Regions from separate parts of the Homo sapiens genome. Here all the other regions are linked to region 4. The links are contacts of gene promoters, found by promoter capture Hi-C in blood cells and fetal thymus (Javierre and others, 2016). All regions are on one chromosome and are shown on one strand. Each heading gives the region's core, a stretch centred on a gene start or on the middle of the fragment in contact. The rest is flanking DNA. Distances are from core to core; before and after follow the strand shown. Region 1 has its middle 60 kb from the start of LINC00494. Region 2 has its middle 5.9 kb from the start of LINC00494. Region 3 has its middle 29 kb from the start of LINC00494. Region 4 holds the start of SULF2 (sulfatase 2). Region 5 has its middle 210 kb from the start of PREX1. Region 6 overlaps PREX1 (phosphatidylinositol-3,4,5-trisphosphate dependent Rac exchange factor 1). Region 7 has its middle 210 kb from the start of LINC00494.

Region 1 (3,285 bases), core at 136-2,635, 630 kb after region 4:
TGGTTTTTCTGAGGATGCCAAATAAATAGGATCATAAAGTACATAATTTTGGGACACTGGCTCTGCCCCTCAGCATAATGCCTTTGAGACACAGGCCCATGGCTGCAATGTGGTAATGGTTCCTTCCTTTCCACAGCTGAGCGTCATTCTGGAGTATGGGCATCCCAGTTTATTTATCCATTCACTCGTTGTTGGAGAACATTAGGGCTGTTTCAAGCTTCTAGATTTTTGTGTCTTCTGGTTATTTTTGAGAATTTCACAGCAATTACACTCTATATCTGGTAATGAGTTTCAGAAAAGTGCTTTAGATGGAAGTTCTGCTCTGTATTAGGAATATGTCCTTCACTGATTAGCATATAAGGATTTTAGGGAGGAGATTCTCTCCCCTTCCCCATCTCCTGATGGCAGACCCCGAATTTCTCAGGATGTTCACTTAAAACAGCATATTTCTAAGCCTTGTTTCTAGCTCTACTACGTGAGTGAGGTAATAGTTTCTGCCCTTTCCTTTTAAATGAGCCATAACTATTTTTTAAAATAATACATTTCTCATATATGTCTTCTTTTGAAAAGTGTCTGTTCATGTCTTTTGCCCACTTTTTAATGTTTTTTTTAATTGTAACAAAGATATGGAATCAATCTAAATGCCCATCAGTGATTGACTGGATAAAGAAAACGTGGTACATACACACTGCAAATACTATGCAGTCATAAAAAAATAAATAAATAATAAGATCATGTCCTTTGCAGGGACATGGATGGAGCTGGAGGCCATTATCCTTAGCAAAGTAACACAGGAACAGAAAACCAAATACCACATGTTCTCACTTATAAGTGGGAGCCTAAAGATGAAAGCACATGGACACGTAGTGAGGAACAATACACACTGGTGCCTTTCAGAGGGTGGAGGGTGGGAGGAAGGAGAGGATCAGGAAAAATAACTAATGGGTACTAGGCAGAATACCTGGGTGATGAAATAATCTGGACAACAAACCCCCATGACACAAGTTTACCTATGTAACGAACCTGCACTTGTAGCTCTGAACTTAACAAACAAACAAACAAACAAAAATACGTTTTATTATGTAAGTAACCTTAAAATGAGAAAAAAAATCCAAAGATCAAAGACTGGTTCCTTCCATTCCAAGTAGCCTGACAAGAATATCTAGGAACCAGGAAACCCTAGCTTCCCCCGCAGTCCAGATGGAAGGAATTGGGCTTACAAAAGACCCCACAGGGTCTCACTGCTAAGACTGTGGTCTGTTCTGTTTATGAGCTTATTCTGTCAAGGCCTGTTGGGTTTGGTTTTGTTTAAGGTTTAACAGGATTTCAGACTTAGTGGTGGTCTCTTTGGATTTTCTCCTTCTTTTTCCTTTTGATGCTTAAACATACCCCCACGACACCAAAGAAACAACCATGGCTGAAAAGACTAGAATTACACAGGATGTAATTCCCTTTCACATAAACGCTGAAGAGTGTCACCCCTGGAGCTGTGACTTTGCTGCAAGGAGCCGAAAAATGAGGATTTGTTTAAATAAAGACACAGAGTAGGCTACATGTAAGTAGAGTGTGGACTTAAGGACCCCTCCTTGGGGTTGAGGCTTCAAATCCTAAGCTCCCAAAGGGGACCATTTGAAAAACAAGAATAATTTCTGTTTGGCCAAGTACTGCACTACATAGCTGCATTTGAGAGAAGAGGACTGAGTCTTTTTAGGTTTGCGAATTCCAGTTTTTCCTTTTTTTTTTTTTTTTTTTTTTTTTTAGACAAGGTCTTGTTCTGTCTTGCAGGCAGTGGTGGCTCACTGCAGCCTTGACTTCCTGGGCTCAAGTGATCCTCCAGCCTCAGCTTTCCATGTAGCTGGGACTACAGGCATGCGCCACTATACCTGGTTAATTTTTTTTATGGTTTTTTTTTTTAGTAAAGATGGAATCTTGCTATATTGTTCAGGCTGGTCTTGAACTCCTGGGCTCAAGTGATCCTTCCACCTCAGCCTCCCAAATTGTTGGGATTACAGGCCTGAGCCACCACGCCCAGCCCTTCAGTGTAGTGATCTATGGTGGACATCATACCCTTCTGGGGGCATTTTGGATATTGTGGGGATGGTTTTGGTTGTGTTTTGATTGGGGACACTGACATTTATTCAATTATTCAATAGGAGTCCAGGGACACTAGAATTCTGCCACATTCAGGACACTCAGACACAACAAAGTCCCATGACTTATCCATATCCCTTAGAATAATTCATGAGCCTAGAAACTCACTCCATTTTACACAGAACTCTAGGTATTGATGGCAGCTTTCAAAGGACATTGAACATAGAGTTTGTAGTCTCTGCCCACAGACACCACTGTTCCTTTTTCCCTAACTGCCTGTGCAGAGTGCTGCTGAGCCGTGTGGCTTCCTGCTCTTTGATTGGCCTACTCATCACTGGAGGTGCAGACGTCTCGCTGCTTCTGGGGTTTGTCTAGTGTAGCTACACGTAATCATTTTCACATATTTATTATAAGTTCATTTTATAGAAGTTATTATTTTGTATTATCTGTATTATTTTATAACAAGCTTGTTCCCTTTTCCCTCTTTTATATTACAATTAAGACATCATCCTGATTTGCTTTTAGGTTATACATATAGGTAATTCCTATTATTTTTGAATTTCATTTTAGAATAGTAAAGCATCATCATAAGATATCATAAAATACAGTTCAGTCTAATAGGGCTGAGGATCGCTGTTCCCGTGGAACTCTGCTATGGACGTTTGCTAAGAGGCCCAGAATCGGATTTTTCCAGCAAGAACATCCTGATTTTACTGTGGGGAATATTTATCTACTGGACCCAGTCTTGACGACCTTGATGGGCGGTCTTAGTTTGGCAAAGGTTGTTTGCACTGACATTTGAAATCCACCAGAGACCCAGTGCCAATCAGCATGAGAAGTCATCTTCTCAAAGCATCAGTAATTTATGCAAAACAGCACATTCCCCTTCTATTCCATTTTAGTTCATTTCTCTGTTCTCCTTCCAGCTCTTTCCATTCCTCCAGAAAGGTCTTTTCTGTTTAATTCCTGGGTAGAGATGGCTCCTTGTACCCCAGTGTCCTTCCCTTCCTTCAGACAGTGATTTTTAGTTGGGTGCTTGGTCACCTAGGCTAAAGATTGCTGTTCCCAGTCCCCCTGCAGGAGATGTGCCACCTGACCACGATCTGTCCAAAGGGATGTGAGAAGTGAGGGATGCAGGTTATGTGTACCCTTAGAGATGAGTCCTGCTAGCCGGACTCTGTGTACCCTTAGATA
Region 2 (2,902 bases), core at 245-2,744, 570 kb after region 4:
AGCACACCTGCCCACATCTCAATACACATGCCCACATGCACACACATGCACACATACGTGGGCATACACAAATACCCCAGTATACATGCATACATCCAAGTACACCTGCCCATGTGCACACACCCCCCAACATACCCTCCCATGTGCACACATACCCCAACACACCTGCCCATGGGCACACACACCCTAACACACCTGCCCATGTGCACACACACCCCAACACACCTGCCCATGTGCATACATACACCCCAGTACACCCATACCCTGGCATATACCCCAGTCCATAATTGCCCATGTACACACACACTCCAGCACATCTGTCCATGTGCATATACATATCGGCACATGTACACTTATGCACACACCATGGCACACACACCACCAGAACATATGCGTATGTGTACACACACCCCATCACACATGCAAAGATTGTTGTAAAGCCTATTTTGGAGAATGCGCTCAGGATAAAAGCTACTTTTCAGCTTCCTTTCCTCTCTGCCCCCAAGATATATTTCCCGACACTTCTGGGTCACAGCCTTCAGAGGGATATAGTTAATACCCAAGGGTCTCACCACTGATGAGCTCTAAAGAATTACTTAGAAGCATGATTGTGTGCCAATAAAGAGGATAACTATCCTATTCTCTGAGGGCTGCAGGCAGTCTTCCTCCTTGTCCCATGACACACTTGTAGTTAACAGATAGAATTGCCAATTGTCAGAAAATAGGCAGCCCCTCTGAGATCAGCTCTATGCACTTTGCCAGGATTTGCTTTATTCATTAAAGTGAGTTTTTCTCTCATGGGGTGTCACATCCAGGTTGGCTTCTCAGCCTGCTGCTCTTCAGCTGACTCCCTGAAACAAATTTCCTAAAACTGACTCTGTTGAGTCCCAATCCAGAACTTTCCCTCATTTCTAAATGATATAAATTTCCTTAGGAAATGTTTAAATTGGCTACCAGTATTATGGTTTTATGGCATCCACATTACACATTTCACAGATTTCCAAACCTGCATGTATCAGAACTGAAAAGACCTGAGCTTAAAATCAAAAGAGCTGAATCACTGTGCTCTCTGAAGCTTAGAGAACCATTTAATTGGAGCAATCAATGTGCAATAATAAAAGCACTTTTGCAGTCGTTTTACTTTTTTCACTTGTAAGGACAATGGAAACTGTTCAATTGAAAAGTGACTAATTGATCAGTTATATGGTCATTCAGCAAGAATTTTTTGAATGACTTCTCTGTGCAAAACACTGTTAGGTGTGATGAAGTGTAAAAAGAAGTGTAATACAATTCAATTAAATGAGGCAAATAATGATGAGTTCCTGCCATGCATCAAGAAGTCTGCTAGATTCTGAGATGAGGTAGTGAGCAAAATGCAGATCTTATCACTGAAGAGATGACAGAGTCAAGTGGTGCATCCACTAAATCAGTAACTCTCGTTTAGTAAATGCTTTGTGCTAAAGAGGAAATGAGTTAACATTGGACACAGGCAAAGTCTGGGGCATGCCTTCATTTCCTACAAGTTACATGCTGCATGGAGAATGTGGGTGGGTGCTCAGAGAGATGGTGGGCTGTGGTGATCTGTGAAAATTATAACTGTGGGCACTGGCTCTGGACTCAGGCCCCTCAGGACAAAGCCGTCTCTACCCTTACTCACTCTGGATGTGCATAGGACATTGAAATGCTCCATGCCTCAGTTTCCCAAGCTCTAAAAACTGGACACTAGTACCTAATTCATTGTGAATGAGACAGTGCATGTAGAGAGCTCTTGTGAGCCATTCCTGGAGCTCAGAGGGTGGGAGGGGGTGGCTGTCACTATTGGAGAGTCACAGCAAGTTTTGGTTCCTACTGGGTCCAAGGAGAACGCTGACAGGCAATGTAGCCAGAAAGAGTGTCTACAGCATGATAAAAGAAAAGCTTCTTACAAATTAACAGAGTTTATTTGAGCAAAGAACTATTCATGAGTTGGGCAGCACTCAGAACCAGAAGAGGTTCAGAGACTGCCACCCAGTAGTCTGGACAGTGAGCTTCTATAGGTTAAACATGAAAGCAGATAAATCACCTGATTGGCTACCACTAGGCATCTGCCTTATTTAGGCATGGTGTGATGAGTGGGCTGCCAATGATTGGTTGAAACTTAGCTGTTTCTGATTGCCTGAAATCTGGCTATTTGTTACAAAAAAAAAATACTCCTAAGTTAGGTTTCTGTTTGTTTACTTACCAAGTTAGGTTGTAATTTGTTACTTAGGAGCTTAAAGTAGGGGGATAGCCTTAGGCTAACGGCCTTCTGCTTATTTAATTTATCAAGTACATAAAGATCATCCTGCCTCAGGAATATGGCATTGCATCCAGACCTGGTACCAAGCTGTGAGCCTCCCAGTCTGGCAGAGGCTTTAAAGCCATCAAGCCCAAAGCATGTGGTCTGCCATGCTCCTTTGCCCTGAGCCATCCCTCCACAGTGTGGGAGGCAACTTAATGTAGGGTTGTGGGTTGTAGCAAAACTGGCTTCTCTCTGGCTGGCTACAGTCTGTGAAGGCACTAAGCAGCAGCGAGAAGTTAAGTAAACATCACAATGTCATTAAATTGCTATGGCAGTAAATCTTAGGGTCTCAGGTTCAGAAAATGGGTGGCTCTCAACCTGGGCAATTTTTCCCTCCAGGTACACTTGCCAACAGCTGGACACAGTTTTGGTTGTCACAACTGGGTAAGGGCATAACTGGCATTTACAGAGTAGTGGCCAGAAATGCTGCTGAGCATCCTACAATATGCAGGGCAGTCCCACAACAGAGATTTCCCAGCTGCAAATGTCAATAGTTCTGAGGTTCAGAAACCTTGAGACAGGGCAGCAGCAATGGCTGGTGCTTGCTGGGGGAGGAGGGTGGTTTAATCTGAGTCTTGAAGG
Region 3 (3,066 bases), core at 170-2,669, 550 kb after region 4:
TTTTGTGGGCACTGGTAACTTTCTCAGATCAGCACTAGAAACTCCCCTTTGGCTAAAATAATTACCAATGTGAAAATAACTGAGACAGGGTAGCCCTACCACATGCCAGTTTGCAATGCTCAGCACGCACCAACCCGTTCGTGCTTCCCAGGACCTGTGAAGACAGAGCTGCTTTTAGCCCACTCTCTGCTGGGGAAGCACAGGAGGTGGGGAACTTTCCCAGGTTAGAGGTGGGCCCTCAGGGCAGGTTGTGTCCCCAGGGCCCCCTCCCACAGGCCTTTCTCCAACAAAGCAGCCCCCCCATTTATCCTGGCCAGATAACTGATTCCTTCCTGGTTGGCCTTGGTCTTTGGAGGACTTGCACCGAGTTTGCCAGGAGGGTGGGACTGACTGTCTTTGGTGAATTCATGGGGAGTTCCAGATGGAGCCAGCCCCTGGGAACCTGGCAAAGCAAAGCTTAGGTTTCCTGGTAGGGGAGGCCCAGAGACCATGTGCTCCCCCTGCTGGGGCCTCGTCCACCAGCCCCCAGACAGCCGCCTGCTCTGCAGGACCCAAAGTCAGGAGACAGAGGTGGACAATCCATGTTGCCTCTTAAATGTTGCAGCCACAAGGCAAGAGGTCCTCAAGATGCGTCCCAGCAAAATCTAGAGATGAAAGTCAGCCTGTGTGAAGAGTGTCAGGAACCTACTATGGGGTCATTGTACATTTTCCCTAGCTAAAAAGAATGGAAACCAAAAAAATGAATTATAAATAGACACTGTAGGGCTTCTTTTATTATTACACATATACAGTTTCACAAAGCAGTGAGTCACCCTTATTCACATTAAGCAAAGTTCCAGCTTCCATGAAAAGGTCATTTTTCTATGCTTTTCTAAGATCCTGCCTGAAGGTGCCTGTTTCTCTCATGGGAAGGATGCAATGCTGCCTCTCACCATTGCAGCTCCTGACAGCCTATGAATGCCCGAAGGCCTTTTCCTCCTCTGTGATAGACACATTGTGATATGGATTTTCAAGGTCCATTTTATTCCTTCCAGAAGAAAAAGAGGCTTCATAATCTCAGAGCAGATTTGTCATATATATATGTGCGTGTGTGTGTGTGTGTGTGTGTGTGTGTGTGTGTGTGTGTATATATATTCAGAGGTTATTGGGGAAAGACATAGGAATTGCTTTTTTCTTTTTAAATTGATTTTTGTTTTGTGGCAGCAAACTATGAGATGAACAAGAATGAGCATAAACCTAACTCTAAAACAGAAGAAAAATCACTGATTTTTAAGGAGAAGTGCAAATAGTAAGAGAATGCATATCAGCATGCGTTTATGAGTTCTAAATCTTGCCAAAACTAAAATCGTTTTTAAGAAAATTTTTTAAGCATTGTTACAAACATTGAATGCATCATCTTCAAATGTCTTTAGTAGACATGGAGGCATGGGAGAATTAAAGCCAGTCTTTAGGAAGGAATAAAAAGCTACACTAAAGTTAATTATTGATCTCACAATGGATGAGAAGAAAACACTTGGATTATAAAAAGGAAGCCCAGACAAAATAATATCACTTTGTAATGTCGAAAACTTAAGATTTTAACTTTTATCTTATGTATCTGTTTCTGATGAACATTCATAATTATACATATTGTATTTATTTTCTTTGTCTTATAAGAAAAGATAAAGGATAAAGAGACGAATGTGTTTCAGGCGTGGTTCAGCCTATGAAGTCTCCATATTCATAGGAAGCCACTGGATTTATACAACATCAGGGGATCATAATGAACACCACGGTCTACTCTGAGTCTTGCAAAAGTGAGAACAATGTTAAAATGAAAACCCCAATTAGCCTGAATTAAGAGGCACTATTTTGTTCTGACCAGAGAGGATTTTCTCTGTGTGGTCTTATAGTTGAAGTCTCCTACCAGTAAGTTAGCATGTATTGGAGAATCTAAGATCTTTCCCAAGTTGGTCTGTTTTAGTCAGACTGTCCTAATTCCAACTGATGGCATCTAAATAAAAATTTATCTTATTAAAAAAGGCATAATGAGGAGTAATTGGCTCATGTCATTAAAAAGTCCAAGAGCAATAGCTTCAGGCATGGCTGGATCCAGGTACTCAAATGATGGTATCAGGAAGTGACACCCACCCCCCCACCTCCTAGCTGTGACTTGTTCTCTGTGAATCCCATTCTCAGGCAAGCTCTTCTGTCCTGGCACCTATTCACATCCTCAGGAGCTCTGAGAGAAAAATAAATTTTCTGTCCCACAGTTTCAACAAAAGTCTCAGAATTGAGTCTCACATGTCCACCTATGATCCAATCTCTGTCCAAGGGCATAGAATTTTCTAATGGCTCAAACTCACTGCTGTTACAGCAAAAGATAGCAAAAGAACCCAGACTCAAGCTTTTCAAACAATGTTTTGCTGTTTAGAAGAGCCATGCTGCAGGAAGGAAGGAGGACAGAGAACTCACCAGTTACTAGTGGCTTTTCATGACCTGGCAAAACAAGGAGGTGACATAGCAAAACAAGCCCATTCAGATTGAATGACAGGGTACCTAGACCCACCTTTCATGGGAGGAGTGTTTAAAACCATGCAGCATGTTTTTAAAACCACCATAGTTGGTAGTCAGCTCAAAACACATCCTAGATTGGCTTTTCCTCTTCCCGCATTTTATTCTTGCCAGTCCCCCAAATCCAGATCCTGGGATCATTTCTGGGAAATAATCTACCTGCTCTTGTCTCAGGTCCTGCATGTGGAGGATCCCAGGCAAAGACACTGTCCATAGCCCCTTCAGGCTTATCGGATATGGTTTGTTTTAGATGGAAATGAGTTCTATACTGAACCTGCTTCAGGTGGAATTTGTGATTATCCTTGAGATAAAGGAAATTCACCCAGGGGTAAATTCCAACATAAACACATATTCTGCTTTCTTTCAAAAGACTACTTTACCTTCTACTTTTCCCATCTCTTCCATTAATGGTTGCCTGCATTCCCTGAACTTTGCATAATTGGAAGAGCTCTTTAATTATCTTTTAATTCTTTCTCAATTTTCAGATGCATTAGCATGTATAAAAGGGAGATG
Region 4 (3,009 bases), core at 510-3,009:
TTTATGTATATAAATTTAGCTGGGGAAGGAAGAGGCCTTCATGTACAAAGGTCCAACATGCCATCTGCCAAGCCCACCACCTTCGCCTTTCAAGCTGCTTATTAGAACGCTAAATTACACATCCGACAGGCTGTCTGGATGAGTTTTCTCTTCTCTATGATGTGGGAGAGACGAAGCTGGGGAGAACATCTCTTACAGGGAAGGGGCCCCCTTCGTTCTGTCCTCCCTACCCCGTTCCTATACTTAACGATTGGCTCTAATTTAATTAGAACCCTCTGGTGGTTCTGTAATGGGAGGCAGAGGCTGTCAAGAAATCACCTTCACTATTCACTACAAGCTGAAATTTGGAGAGCGCGCAGATCCGGGGGTGTCCTCCAGAGAAAGCCCGTCTCTCCTGCTCCCTGTCTCCCCCTGAGAACCTGCTCCAGCGCAGCCTCCCCTTCTCTGCCCCAAAAGTGGGGGTGGACCCGGTGGGAAACAGGCAGGGGACAGATGGAGGGGCGAGAGGGCGGGTGTCCCAACACGCACAGATGAGCAAATACCCAGATTGAAACGTAAGCTGAATGTAATTACTTGGTTAATTAAATATTGACTTTTAACTCAAAAAGTGATTAAAACAAGCTGCAGGAAGACTTTCCAGAAAGGGGGGCAGGGAATGAATCAAAGCTTTCAAGGGGGAGGAGGAGGAGGAGAGGGTCGTCACAGGCAGGTCTGGCTTGCTCTTCCTACTGTGTGCTGGGCCTACTGCGTGCAGGTGGGGGAGTTGCGGACCGAGGCCAGTGTGCAAACTAGGATTGCAGGCTTCCCTTTCCATCTTCCACCCCGAGACGGCATCTCTCTACCCTGCTGCCCTCCCAGTGAACCGGCAGCTTCTGGCGCGCAGGAGCCAGATCCTGTTCAGCCGCGTTTCCCTGGAACAGAACGCGGTGCCCGGCACGAGGGGGTGCTCCAGAAATGCTTGTAGAACGAATGAACGAACTACTATAAGGAATGTTTGGAAAAGTGCACTCCTAGAATTCACCGCTAGACTTCTGAAACCCCGAGGAGCCGGGGAGGGGAGCATCCCTCCGCCAGGCGATGGAAACTCGTTCTGCCCTGGCCTGGGAGGAAGTCTGCCTTTTCGATCCTGTTTGTCCTTTCGGTGTCTGCGAGTTTCCAACCACTCTGAAGATCCGGCCCACTGCTTCCCCGAGTCCTGCCCGGACAAGCCCCACGTGGGCTGGCATCTACCGGTCCCTTGGGTCTAAACCCTAAGGGTCAACAAGGCCATGCCCCTGCGGATGGCCGGCCCAGGCGCGCTCCCCTACCCGGGGCCGCCTGTGCTCGGTGTGCCGTGTCCGCGGGTCAGGGGCGCGGCGGGAAGTCCTCGCCCGCCCGCCAGCCAGCGGGGTCAAACAGGTCATCCCTCTGCGGACGGCCGGCGCCGGAGCCTCCCTCCCGCCCGCCCGGACCCACCTCCGCAAGCAGCGCTGGGGCTGGAGCCGGGCGGTCCGGACCAGCCCCGGCTCACCTGGGCGGCGCTCGCGGCCGGGCTCACGCCGGGGAAGGCTCCGGCCGCCGCGAGCCCCCGCCCGAGCCCCGCGTCCCCCAGCCACCCACCTGCCCCCCACGCCCCACTCACCAGCGCGCACGGCCCCGGCAACCTCACCCGGAGCGGGGCGCCGCCGCCGCCTCTGCCGCAGCCCGGCCGGGCCGCTGGGCGCAGGGGACTCCGCGCCGCCGCTGCCGCTGCCGCCGCCGCCGCCGCCGCTGCCGCTGCTGCATCCCCCGGCGAGCGCTGCTGCTCCTCCTCCTGCCTCCTCCCCGCCCCCCAACGCCGCCGCCACCGCCCCCGGCCCCCTCCCCGCGCGCCGCCCCAGCCAAAGTCCGGCTCCGCACCCCGCCCGGACCGCTCTTAAATCGCCCCAGCCCGGCCGGCCACGCTGCCCCAGCCAGCCCCTTGGCACGGCGCTACCGCCCCCCGCTCGCCTGCCCGCCGGCCTCCACGCAGGGGAGGCGGGCGCGCTCCGGGGCGGGGAGCGTCGGGCCGGGAGCCGCGGACGGCTGGGGCCCGGGGCGCGGGGGGCCCAGCCGCGGTGCCCTCCTCGAGCCCTCCGCGCGCTAGCGCTTTTACCTCCGGCCTGGGGGACGCGCGGCCCGCGACCCGGCCCTGCCTGTCCCCGGCGCACGGCCCCGGCCCCGGCCCCGAAGTCCAGCTCCGGACGGGGCAGTGAACGCAGAGCTGGGGTCCCGGCGGCTCTCGACCTCCCGATGCCTCCGGACTCGGCTGGCCGCGCTCCCGGCGCCGAGCGCGCACCCTCGCCGGGACACACAGACGCACACTCACTCGACACACTCTCGCTCCTGCTCGCCCTCGGCGGAGAGTTGAAACAGATGTGGGATTCGCCCAGGAGCTGGAAACGAGGGAGGGAAGCGAGCCAGAGCCTTGTGTGCACGTGTGTGTGCGTAACACACAAACCAGGGGGCATCGCTAATAAATCAAATATCGTGATAAATTCAGGAGGGCCATCGATCAGGTCCACTTGGCTGGAAACGACGTGAATCTGCCTCTTTTCCGCTTTCTTCTTCTCCTCTCTCGGAGCTGGAGGGAGCCAAATGTTCCGCGGGGAGTGCGACAGCCCCGGCCGGGCGCTCCCCTCGTAATGACACGTTAATAAATGTTTTCTTTTATCTGCTTTCACAGGACTCGCCCCGGTCTGCAAACACTCGACTGCCTTTGCCGAAAGCCTCGCGCTCGCCTCCAGCCACACACATTTGCCATTGGAGAGGCCGGCGCCGGCCGCGACCCGCAGCTCAATCGCAGGGCAAACCGAGCTGCCTGTGCGCGCCCGAGAACTCCCCGAGAAATTAACTTCGGCTCAAGTGAAAATAGCAGCTGTTGTCCAGAAATGGCCCGGGAGTAGCATAGAAAGGAGAAACCGGCTTCCTCCGAAAGGGGAGGAATTGGACTCAAGGGGGTGCTGTCTACCGTGGTTTCCGCTGTCCCTCGCGCCACAGAAGAGGCCGGAG
Region 5 (3,322 bases), core at 306-2,805, 840 kb after region 4:
AGTGGGAGCCTCCCAGGAGCTCTGGGCAGGAGGCCCGCAAGGCTAGGCGGGGCGCCCTGGCCCACAGCGCCATCTAGTGGCCGTCACTTCCACAAAGGTGCACCAGTGACTGTGGGTTTCTGGTCACAAGCTTCGTAAGCACCCCGCTTTACAGTGCATAAGGGCCTTTCATATCCTTCTCCTCCAATCAGAAGAGAGGAAGGGAAAAAAGAGAAAAGAGAGAAGGGAAAGATCCCCGAAAGGAAAGAATTGAAAAATCGAGTCAAGCTCACAGACATATGTTATGGGACAAAGACAAATATAGAAAAGCTTAGAGAGAGAGAAAGAAAATGAGGGGGACGAAAGTAAGAAAGAGACAAATTTTAAAAAGTTTTTAAAAAGAGAGAAAAAAAGAGAAAATATTCACGGCAAGCCCAGCCCAGGAGAGGGATAGCGCCAGTGCCCATTGTCCAGACGATTCCAGGCCCCGCCTCCAGGCTGGCTCTGTCCCAAATACCTGCACCCAGGAGCCAGCCTTCGGTCTGAGTGCTGGAGCCCGGGGAACAGCAGCCTCTGGGCACTACGCGGTCCCCAGCACCACCTGCTGGACAGACAGGGCACTACACTTATCCCGGGAAGTTCCACTTTGGGGCCCTGGAGGAGACTCCTGGTACCCCCGCAAGGCAGCCAGGTGGGCGTAAAGTCTCCATTTCTCAAAGAAGGAAGCTGAGGGTCCCAGAAAGACAGAGAATCTCAGATATGGCCACTCAGCAAGTATCAGGTGTTGACAGATTCAGGAGCAGGCGAGGGTGTCTGACTTCAAAGGTCCTAGTCCAGCCCCCCATGAATGAACCCACGTGGCAGACACAGAGGTTAGAGGGGCCCGCTTGGCCACAGATGGGTGTGGCTTGCGCCCCCCGCTCTGATCACTGTGCTAACCCTGCTTTCTTCTATTAATATTTAGCCGTGATTCACCACTGTCTGGCCCTGGGCTACAGTATGGAAGGGGTGTGGTTCCTGCTCTTACTGCTGGGGGGAAGGTGGACAGGAAGTACACCAACAGTTATTTAGATAAAATCATAAAGCGGTCAACACACCCCATCGTACCTTCCACTTCCTGGGTGGCCTCTGTTGCAGTCCACGCCAAGGGGCCATCTCTGGGTCAGCACCTTTTGACAGATGAAAAAACTGAGGCTCAGAGGAATTCAACCACCTGGGCCCTGCCCTCATCCTGGAGGAGCAGAGAAGGAGAGGCTCCGAGAGACGTCAATGCGGGGCTGCGCCTGCCCCTTGATTCTCCATTGGACGGCACAGTGACTCCGGGTCACCAGGTCCTCCCCGAGCTGACATCGCCATGGCAAGTCCAGAGCTAAGGATCTGGCCGTCAGCGTGAGCAGGCCGGATGAGTGCTCGGACCACGTGGCTCCGGGGAGCTGGAGAGCTGGCACCCTCCTCAAGAAGACAGCCGCTCCTCAGCTCCAGCTGACATGTAGCCAGGTGGGAATGTGGACCAGTGTGACCAGAGCTTCTGATTTTTTCTTTAATCTTTTTTTTAAGAGGCAGGACCACACTACGTTGCCCAGGCTGGAGTGCAGTTGGCTATTCACAGGTGTGATCAAAGCGCACGACAGCCTTGAACTCCTGGTCTCAAGCAATCCTCCCACCTTTGCCTCCAAGTAGCTGGGACCACAGGTGCGCACCACCACACCCAGCTCAGAGCTTCTGATTTTCGAGACAAACTAAAAATCAGAATTCAGAGATGAAATTTGCTGGTTCATAAATATAATTCATTTTTTTAAAACACCATATCAGGAAGGAAGTAAAAAAAAAAACCCACATTTAGTTCCAAGTTTCAGCCTGGAGCCATCAGTTTGAGACCTCTTGTCTCCTGCAAAAATGTCCGCTTGCTCTGAGAGGCCCTTCGTGCTTAGTTTTATACTTGGAGAAACACATCTCGGAGAGGGAGGTGGGCCCGGCTCTCCCTCCCAACTCTGCAAGCACAGCTCTGAGCCTGTAAAGTATGCAACTTGCTCAAGGCCACAGAGAGCCGGCTGGAAACCCAAGCTGCTCCTGCCTACGGCCCCAGGAGAATGTATGTTCCTTCTGCGGGCCCCCAGGGTGGAGGAGAGGCTGAAATCGATGCTTTCTAGAAACGTGTCTGCCTGAAGGAAGACGTCCAATCCTCCCTGTTGACCTCAAATATAGATTGAGGTAACAGGTCTTCCCTCGAAGTGATTTTCCCTGGATCCAAACACTGGCCTCAGATAATTCTAAATAATCAATCCATGACTGTGCCTGAAACCCCACCAGGATTCCCTCTTGCCTGTTAGAGTATTGAGTCCTTTGAAACCTGTAACTGAGAGACGCGAGGATCTCTCTCTGGGAGGGATCCAATCTGGGCCTTCAGAGAATGTAATCTGCAACAGGTTAGTTTGGAAGGAAAAGAGACTGAAAGAGAAGGGGCTCGAGTGTGAAATGGCAGGGCTGGGTGCAGCACCATGGTACAGGGGAGTCCCAAGGGTGGCCATGACCCAGAGGAAACTGTCATCGATTTCAGCATTTTCCAAAGGATTGGAAATCGGGAAAAGATGGAATAAAGAAGAGGCCATACGCAACATACCGAAACCCGGTCTCTATAAAAATTTTTAAAAATTAGCCAGGCATGGTGGTGTGTGCCTGTAGTCCAGGCTACTTGGTAGGCAGCATACTGAAACCTGGTCTCCACAAAAAATTTAACAAATTAGCCAGGCGTGGTGGCACGTGCCTGTAGTTGCAGTTACTTGGGATGCTGAGGTGGGAGGATAAATTGAGCCCAGGAGGTCGAAGCTTAAGTGAGTCATGATCGCGCCACTGCACTCTACCCTGGGTGATAAGAGCAAAAGACCCTGTCTCAAAAAAAAAAAAAAAGGACGAGGGGGCACAGGGCTGGCACAGCAGAACAGGTCTGCAGCCCAGGGAATGAGGTTTCTCTGACTATGCAAACAAACCCAGGCAGCTTCATAAAGATCACCTGGGCCCAGGCAGGTGGAGAACCTGCTGACAGCCTAGGATGCAGCCACCAGGCCCAGGTGTGCACGCAGACTCTCTATTCTCATTGGTGCATTTCACGTCTGCCCAATAGGCCTGTTTGTGGCCAGCGTAAGTTCTGGCTGACTGGGGGTCCGGCACGACCATGTTGTGGGTATTTTGAACTCCACTCCCGCCTGGATCCAACAGGCCTTGCAGGTTGGAGCGAGGAGGATTCTATGGCACCCCTTGGATCCACACTGTCCCCTCAGCACAAGTAAGCCACCCAGGAGGAGGTGTGGAATTCCTGGGAAAACAGTCACTTTTTCCTACCTTC
Region 6 (3,243 bases), core at 627-3,126, 850 kb after region 4:
AACTGGCCAGTTTCAAGCAATTGGTCTCTCAGGGTCCCAATCTTCTGGAAGGAATTATTTCCAATGGCCGGCTTCTGGCCAGTGAGTTTTTTAGTGACCAAATTTGACCCAGATCCTGCAGTAGCACCCCCTTGGCTAATTTCTAGAAAGAAGGCAGGGATAGAGAAGGTCTCCAAGATTCTCCCGCTACCTCCTCCCCCTTCCTCTTCCCCACTCTCTGCTGGGTGGAAGCCCCCAGGCTGGGGCTGAAGGCTCTACCGGCACAAGGCCCCCTAACATCGTCCTCTATCCCGGGGCCCCGTCAACATCCACCCAGGCCTGGGCAGTGGCACAGGACAGGGCTCCTGGCTCCAGTGCCCTGAGACTTGTCCCTTGGACACAAGAGGAAGAAGCAAGTTTCAAGTAGCTCTTGGAGGGGCTCCAGGCCAAAGCGTTGCCTCCCCCCGTCCAGGCCCCGAGGGCATGGATGGTCGGCCTTGGGTGGTGGAAGAGGCCGGGTATGTGCCCCCCACACACCTTTAAAGGCCTCACCTGTGCACTTCAGCAAGGCCAGGAGCAGCTGGTTCTTCCCATCTGGAAGGAGAAGGGAGACAGAAAGGGGGACGGGCTGGGAGGGGGCAGCAAGAGGTGAGGGCAGAACCGGGCCCCTCCCCATGGCACCTCCCAAGGTGCTCTGACCCTTCACAGCAAAGCCCTGGCACCCAAGGCTGTGCTCAAGGAGGTTTTATTGATTGTCAGGTAAACTCCAGGAACCCCTGACCTCAGGCAGTGGAACCCCAACTGTGAGCCCCATCTGTACGTGCAAGCCTGGGACACAGATGGAACCAGCCCCTTTAATCCCTGGGCCACAGCCCCTGCCCCACACCTTGTTCACATAAGTATGGTCACACACACGTACAACCTAGATACACACGTATCCATACACACACACACTCACACATCAACAGACACCCAAGTGCATGCCACACACAGAGACACACACATATACTCATACGTAGACTCACATATGTACACACGCAGGTACACATGCGCCCACACAAGCACACAGCAGACACACAAGTGCACACCACACACGTGCACTCATCTGCAGACTCACATACATATGTACACACACAGGTACACACACATCCACACAGACACACAACAGACACACGAGTGCACACATAAGACACACACTCCTAACAGCCTCACATACATATTCTCATCCTACATGGGCATGGCCCTACACACGCCCTGTCCTGCAAAAAAAGCTCAATTCTTCCAGGCCCAACATCCTGTTCTCTTTCCTTAAAAAAGATGCTCCTCGGCCCACAAAAGGGCTTAGAAAGATGTGGAAGGGCTTTGGATTTGGTTTATTAGGTGCCTTCTTCCCCAGGGAGGACTGCAGGACTCAGGGCTGGGCAGGGTAAGAACGAGAGCAGCTGCAGTGGTGCGCTCTTGTCAGGACTCACCACGCCAGGCACCACGGCAGGACTCACCACGCCAGGCAGCCAGGCCAGAACTCACCACACCAGGAAGCCAGGCCAGGAGTCACCACGCCAGGCAGCCAGGGCACTGAGCGCATGACCTATGCTGACTCATTTAATCCTCCTGACCACACGGGAAGGAGGCAGCACTGTGGGCCCATTTGACACAGGAAGAAGCTAAGGCCAGAGGCGTCAAGGAACTCGCCATGATCACACAGCCAGTAAGTGGGTGAGCTGGGATTCAAGCCCTGGTGGTCTGGACCCAGAGTCGATGCTCCTCACTGGTTACACTTTTGGAGAACAGGACAGATCAGAAGCAGCAGAGACTCCGACTCAGAGGCTGCCATTCCCCGAGGGAACAGCCCAGAGTCCTCTAATCTCCCACTGTCCTGGTCAAACATCTCCCTCGTCCGGATCCTTCTAACGCAGGAGTCTCAGACGCAAATGCCGGCAAGGGCCAGGCAGGTGATGTAAGATGCGTGGAGCAGACGCCAAGCCACAGGGAGTGGTGGAGACTGGGGTGAACTGGAAAGCACCTCGGCCCCACGTACACAGAGCGGCCGCCACTCCTCTCCACCAAGGGAGGATGGGAGACTGGGCCTAGAGTCACCAGATCTTCGTGTTGTTCAAGAGCAGCCAGAAATCCAAGTTTCTATGTGAGAACCTTTGTCAAGCTGGAAGCAGAGTCACAGTTTTTGCTGCTGCAGCATCGAAACCTATCTGTGGGCCTGAATCTGGTCAGTGGGCTGCCAGCCGGTGTCCCTCATACCCTGATAATAACAGGAACTCACACATCCAATGCTTTGGAAGCTGAGAAAGAACAGGTTCAGCCTTTTCAACCTCCAAAGTCAGGGCTTTGTTTTGTTTTGTTTTGTTTCTGATTTTTGTTTTGATAGAGACAGGGTCTCACTATGTTGCCCAGGTCTCAAACTCCTGGGCTCAAGTCACATCCTGCCCAGGGCAGGACACTCAGCTGAGAGAGGGCATCACTTCTCTTGTCCTCTCCCTGGTCATGGAGAAACAGGGGTCACAGAACTGGATCCATTCCTGATTCTCTCAGGTTCCACACCAAAAGCCATGGCCCCCTCCCCACCATGATGCACCCTCCCTGCCCACCGACCTTCCACATATCTCTGAATGTTGTCCACCAGGGTCTTGATGGAGTTGGGGAGGTTCCAGGGGTCCTCCTGGATGCTAATCTGGATCAGGCTCCGGCCACGGATTGTACACTCTTCTTTCTGTTTAAACTCTGGGGCAGGAAAGTGGCATGAGGGCCAGGGAAGGGACGGAGGTAGTGTTGGAGAACGGTGGCACAAAGGCCTATGTCCCATCACAGATCCCAGAGCTCATAATCCTAGATCAAGGGAGCTGGCAGGACTCCTGGGCATTATCGGGTCCACAGAGGGTAAGTGTGCTATTTCATGGTACCACACCCATGGCAGGCATTATTCATCAATCTCAGCACTCCTTCCTGCTGCTCTGAGACCAAGACTCCCCACAGCTATAGCCAATCCAGTGCAGACCTCACAAATCAATCACGGCTTTCCTTTCGTCTAAGCCTGGATGTTGTAGCCACAGAAGGATTCTCAGGAACTACCTCCTCATAGCCACAACCAATTGAGATGGCACATGAGTTCTATCCCTTTCCCTACACAGAGGAGGAAGCCCACACACAGAGTGGGAAAGTGACATGCCTTAAGTCATGCAACTGGGCAGTGACAGCGCTGGGACTTACCTCTGGCCCCACCATTCAGAGGCCAGGAAGAAAAAGGCCCCT
Region 7 (3,281 bases), core at 20-2,519, 780 kb after region 4:
ACCCCAGAGAAACCTGCAGAGGGATCATTACCGCCTGGGAGCACTCTCAAGGGACCAGCACGAGCGCCAGGCCACCGAGGACAGAGTCCACAGCACCCCTCTTCCTGGAAAGCCCACCTGCTTCAGGGCCCCAGACACAGGCTGCAGCTCCCAGACCCCCTTAACTTCACATCAGAGACCCCAGAGCCAGAAAGGCCTTTGAAGGAAAGGCCTTCTTTTAGACCCATTTTTGTATTTGTTTTTGACAAATGAGGAAACAGAGGCACAAGACTCAGAGAATCCAGCTTCTTCCACTCACATCACAAGCTGCGTCTGCCCAGAGTCGCCATGCCTAGCCTCGGGTTCCTGGTGCAAGACGACACACATAGACACAGAATGGGATTCGAGTTGGATTCACAAGGAAAAGGGTTTCCCCCAAAGCCTAAAGACGAAGAAAGGGTCAGACCAAATCATGTTTCCACCCAGTATCTTTTGAGTACTCCCTATGTCGGGCACTATTCTACAGCCTAGGGCTACAGTAATGAAGACAGACACAATTCCTTCCCTCAGGAAGTGGAGGTGATGATGTTAGCAAATGAATACATGCAGTCATTTCAAAGAGAAATAAATTATAAGAAGAGAACAAAGGGAGGCAATGGGCCAGACAGCAAGGGTGGTAGTGGGGCTACTTTAGATGGACAAACTGGGGAGACTGTCCAAGGCCATGGTGAGGAGCTTGGATTACATTCCCATAAAATGAAAATGGGTTAGGGGGCTTAGATGGGGAAGGGACATGACCAGACATGTATTCTAACACCATCCTTCTGGCTGAGTGTGGAGAACAGATTGTCAAGGGTGAGGGTGGAAGCAGAGAGACCATCCTCTCTGGGTGGAAGCGAAGCCACTGTAATTGTCAGGCAGGAGCTGGTGATGCTTGGACTGGAGTGCATAGTGCAGATAGTGAAACGCCGTCAGACCCTGTACGTATCTGGGGGACTGGAGGTGGGGTTGAGGCAAAGAGAAGAGGAAAAACAACACCTGCATTTTAAGCTGAGCCACTAGGTTGATGATTGAGCCCCAGCTCTTCTCTCCTGGGAGCGATAAACATTTGCTATAAGATCTGTGATTCAAATAAGCTTAATATTAAGCTCAGATTATAACTTTGTGTCAGCGACTCTTGATGAAAACCAAGAAAATATCCTGGCATAAGAAAGTCTGATGGGGACACAGGAGAGCAGCACAAAGGAAACCATGGAAGCCTCAACATAGACGTATTATTTTTTCTCGCCATTATAAAGGTGGAGCAACTAGGGCACAGAAAGGTTAAGAAACTTGCTCCAGGTCACACAGCCAGAAAGCAGTAAAGCCAATATTTAAACCTAGTGCCATGTTTTTATTTACTTATTTTTAATTTTTTTTTTAAGACAAGGTCTCACTTGGTCACCCAAGCTTGAGTGCAGTAGCGTGATCACAGCTCACTGCAGCCTCAACCTCTTGAGCCTCAACCTCCTGAGCTCGAGCAATCCTCCCACCTCAGCTTCCCAAGTAGCTGGGACTACAGGAGAGTGCCACCACACCCAGCTAATTTTTTTTTTTATTATTATACTTTAAGTTCTAGGGTACATGTGCACAACATGCAGGTTTGTTACATAGGTATACATGTACCATGTTGGTGTGCTGCACCCATTAACTGGTCATTTACATTAGGTGTTTCTCTTAATGTTATCCCTCCCCCAACCCCACAACAGGCCCTGGGTGTGTGATGTCCCCCGCCCTGTGTCCAAGTGTTCTCATTGTTCAATTTTTGTATTTTTTGTAGAGACGAGGGTCTCCCTAAGTTGCCCAGGCTGATCTTGAACTCCTGGGCTCAAGTGATCCTCCCATCTTGGCCTCCCAAAGTTCTGGGATTACAGGTGTGAGCCACCATGCCCAGCCATAGAGCCACGTTTTTTAATCACTGCACTATTGAACCAGTCTTCAGGTAGAGGATATTGAATTGTTCCAATTTGAAAGTTTATTTTTAATTGTAATACACAGTGTGACTGGGAATGTCTTTATATATTCATCTTTGCCTCCTTGAGCAAGTATTTCTGAAGATAAACTCTCTAGGGAGTGGAGACAGCGGTCTTAGGGTCCCTCATGTTCTGTGGAGTCTGTCAGCTTCCACCTGGCAGCCCTCCACTCTCACATCTTTGCCCGAAAGTCCTCCTTTCTACGAATGAGCCAGGGCCCCCTGCCCAACTGTTGAACTGGCCTTGGAAGGTGGCCAAGCTCCTTCCAGGAGGTGAGGGGTGGGGGGAGAATGCGTCTTCTGAACCTCTAAATAGACCCAGGTCAACAAGGCTCATCCCCTAAAGTCCAACACATTATCTCATGGCCGGCTTCAGCCAGCAAGCAGGCGGCCTCCTGAAAAATTTATCATTTGCTATTTTCTGCTCATCCATGCAGGAGTTCTGACAGTCCTCAGGGCCAGAGACTTCTCCACTGAGATAATCCCAGCATTCCATCCAGTTCCGGGGCAGAGAACAGCCGTCCATCCTCATTAGGGTCCGGTTAGGAGGATGAAGCCGGACACGCAAGATGAGGGGCTCATTCTGTTTCCTATTTTGGGGGTTGAGTGTGCAGGTTTTTACTGAGAATGGCTTTTCCTTTCCCTACGTGAAGTGGTCACTCCTCCCTGAGCTGCCTCTTGGAAGTATCGAAAGCTCAGCGGAACTGGTTTTGTGAGCTTACTGATCAGAAAGTGCTCGAAAGTGTCATCAAAGTTTCAAATCCATTAGGAAAATCTGTTTGGGTGATGTTCAAAGACCTTTAGGCTTTTGTCACCAGGAGGCTAAGAAAGAAGAGAAAAGTTTAGAAGCTGAGACCTTGTTTGTGTGGTTTCCTTTGGTCAAGGAGGCCATGGCAGTTGTGGGTCCTGCCAGGGTGTTACTGGCTTAATTCAATTCAGACGACCTTTGATGAGCCTCTTTAGGTGCCAGGGCTCAGCCAGGCACTGGGGCACCCTGATGAGTGTGGTCTCTGACTTGGGGAGCAAATTGTCTAGCTCAGGTCCCCGAAAAACAGCCGTCTGCCTACAGTCTCATGATTTTGCAACATCTCTGTGACATCTGGGAAGAAGAGTGATTGCTGAAGCACAGGGCTGCGCTGTGAGCCCATTCCTGAGGGTGCCAACTAACTCAGCCACAGGCAAGAGTGTGTCTACAACTCCCAGAGCCCCCAGGGGAAGCAGGAGTCCCTCAGGAGAACAGGACAAAGACCATATGAGGCTCCCAGCTCAGTTCCCCGCTTGACTCTGCTTC

What was found. Contacts are between HindIII fragments. The CHiCAGO score rates a contact against its expected background, and 5 or more counts as called.
Region 1: a fragment that was not itself captured here is called in contact with the fragment with the promoter of SULF2 in region 4 in 1 of 17 cell types (M1 macrophages); the score reaches 5.2 in M1 macrophages.
Region 2: a contact is called between a fragment that was not itself captured here and the fragment with the promoter of SULF2 in region 4, in 1 of 17 cell types (endothelial precursors). The highest score is 5.1, in endothelial precursors.
Region 3: a fragment that was not itself captured here is called in contact with the fragment with the promoter of SULF2 in region 4 in 6 of 17 cell types (endothelial precursors, M1 macrophages, M2 macrophages and 3 more); the score reaches 10.4 in endothelial precursors.
Region 5: a contact is called between a fragment that was not itself captured here and the fragment with the promoter of SULF2 in region 4, in 14 of 17 cell types (endothelial precursors, M2 macrophages, M0 macrophages and 11 more). The highest score is 55.1, in endothelial precursors.
Region 6: a fragment that was not itself captured here is called in contact with the fragment with the promoter of SULF2 in region 4 in 5 of 17 cell types (naive B cells, M1 macrophages, total B cells and 2 more); the score reaches 9.0 in naive B cells.
Region 7: a contact is called between a fragment that was not itself captured here and the fragment with the promoter of SULF2 in region 4, in 3 of 17 cell types (erythroblasts, M1 macrophages and M0 macrophages). The highest score is 6.9, in erythroblasts.

The regions. Positions count from the first base shown.
Region 1 is chr20:48,418,013-48,421,297 of GRCh38, forward strand. No RefSeq gene overlaps it. Among named protein-coding and RNA genes, the nearest start is that of LINC00494, 60 kb to the left of the region's middle. The HindIII fragment of the contact is 2,340 bases long and covers 216-2,555 here.
Region 2 is chr20:48,352,584-48,355,485 of GRCh38, forward strand. No RefSeq gene overlaps it. Among named protein-coding and RNA genes, the nearest start is that of LINC00494, 5.9 kb to the right of the region's middle. The HindIII fragment of the contact is 842 bases long and covers 1,074-1,915 here.
Region 3 is chr20:48,329,591-48,332,656 of GRCh38, forward strand. No RefSeq gene overlaps it. Among named protein-coding and RNA genes, the nearest start is that of LINC00494, 29 kb to the right of the region's middle. The HindIII fragment of the contact is 1,930 bases long and covers 455-2,384 here.
Region 4 is chr20:47,783,722-47,786,730 of GRCh38, forward strand. It overlaps SULF2 (sulfatase 2), which reads right to left and starts at 1,760. Exons shown (of 21, transcript NM_001387048.1): 1 at 1,622-1,760. LOC124904920 (a long non-coding RNA gene) reads left to right here and starts at 2,033. Exons shown (of 2, transcript XR_007067618.1): 1 at 2,033-2,441; 2 at 2,684-3,009. RefSeq lists an enhancer at 2,878-3,009. The HindIII fragment of the contact is 4,753 bases long and covers 665-3,009 here.
Region 5 is chr20:48,620,588-48,623,909 of GRCh38, forward strand. No RefSeq gene overlaps it. Among named protein-coding and RNA genes, the nearest start is that of PREX1, 210 kb to the right of the region's middle. RefSeq lists a silencer at 1-96 and an enhancer at 397-456. The HindIII fragment of the contact is 2,496 bases long and covers 308-2,803 here.
Region 6 is chr20:48,637,180-48,640,422 of GRCh38, forward strand. It overlaps PREX1 (phosphatidylinositol-3,4,5-trisphosphate dependent Rac exchange factor 1), which reads right to left. Exons shown (of 40, transcript NM_020820.4): 30 at 2,587-2,715; 31 at 532-573. Among named protein-coding and RNA genes, the nearest start is that of PREX1, 190 kb to the right of the region's middle. RefSeq lists an enhancer at 1,372-1,666. The HindIII fragment of the contact is 6,763 bases long and covers 1-3,243 here.
Region 7 is chr20:48,567,404-48,570,684 of GRCh38, forward strand. No RefSeq gene overlaps it. Among named protein-coding and RNA genes, the nearest start is that of LINC00494, 210 kb to the left of the region's middle. The HindIII fragment of the contact is 313 bases long and covers 1,114-1,426 here.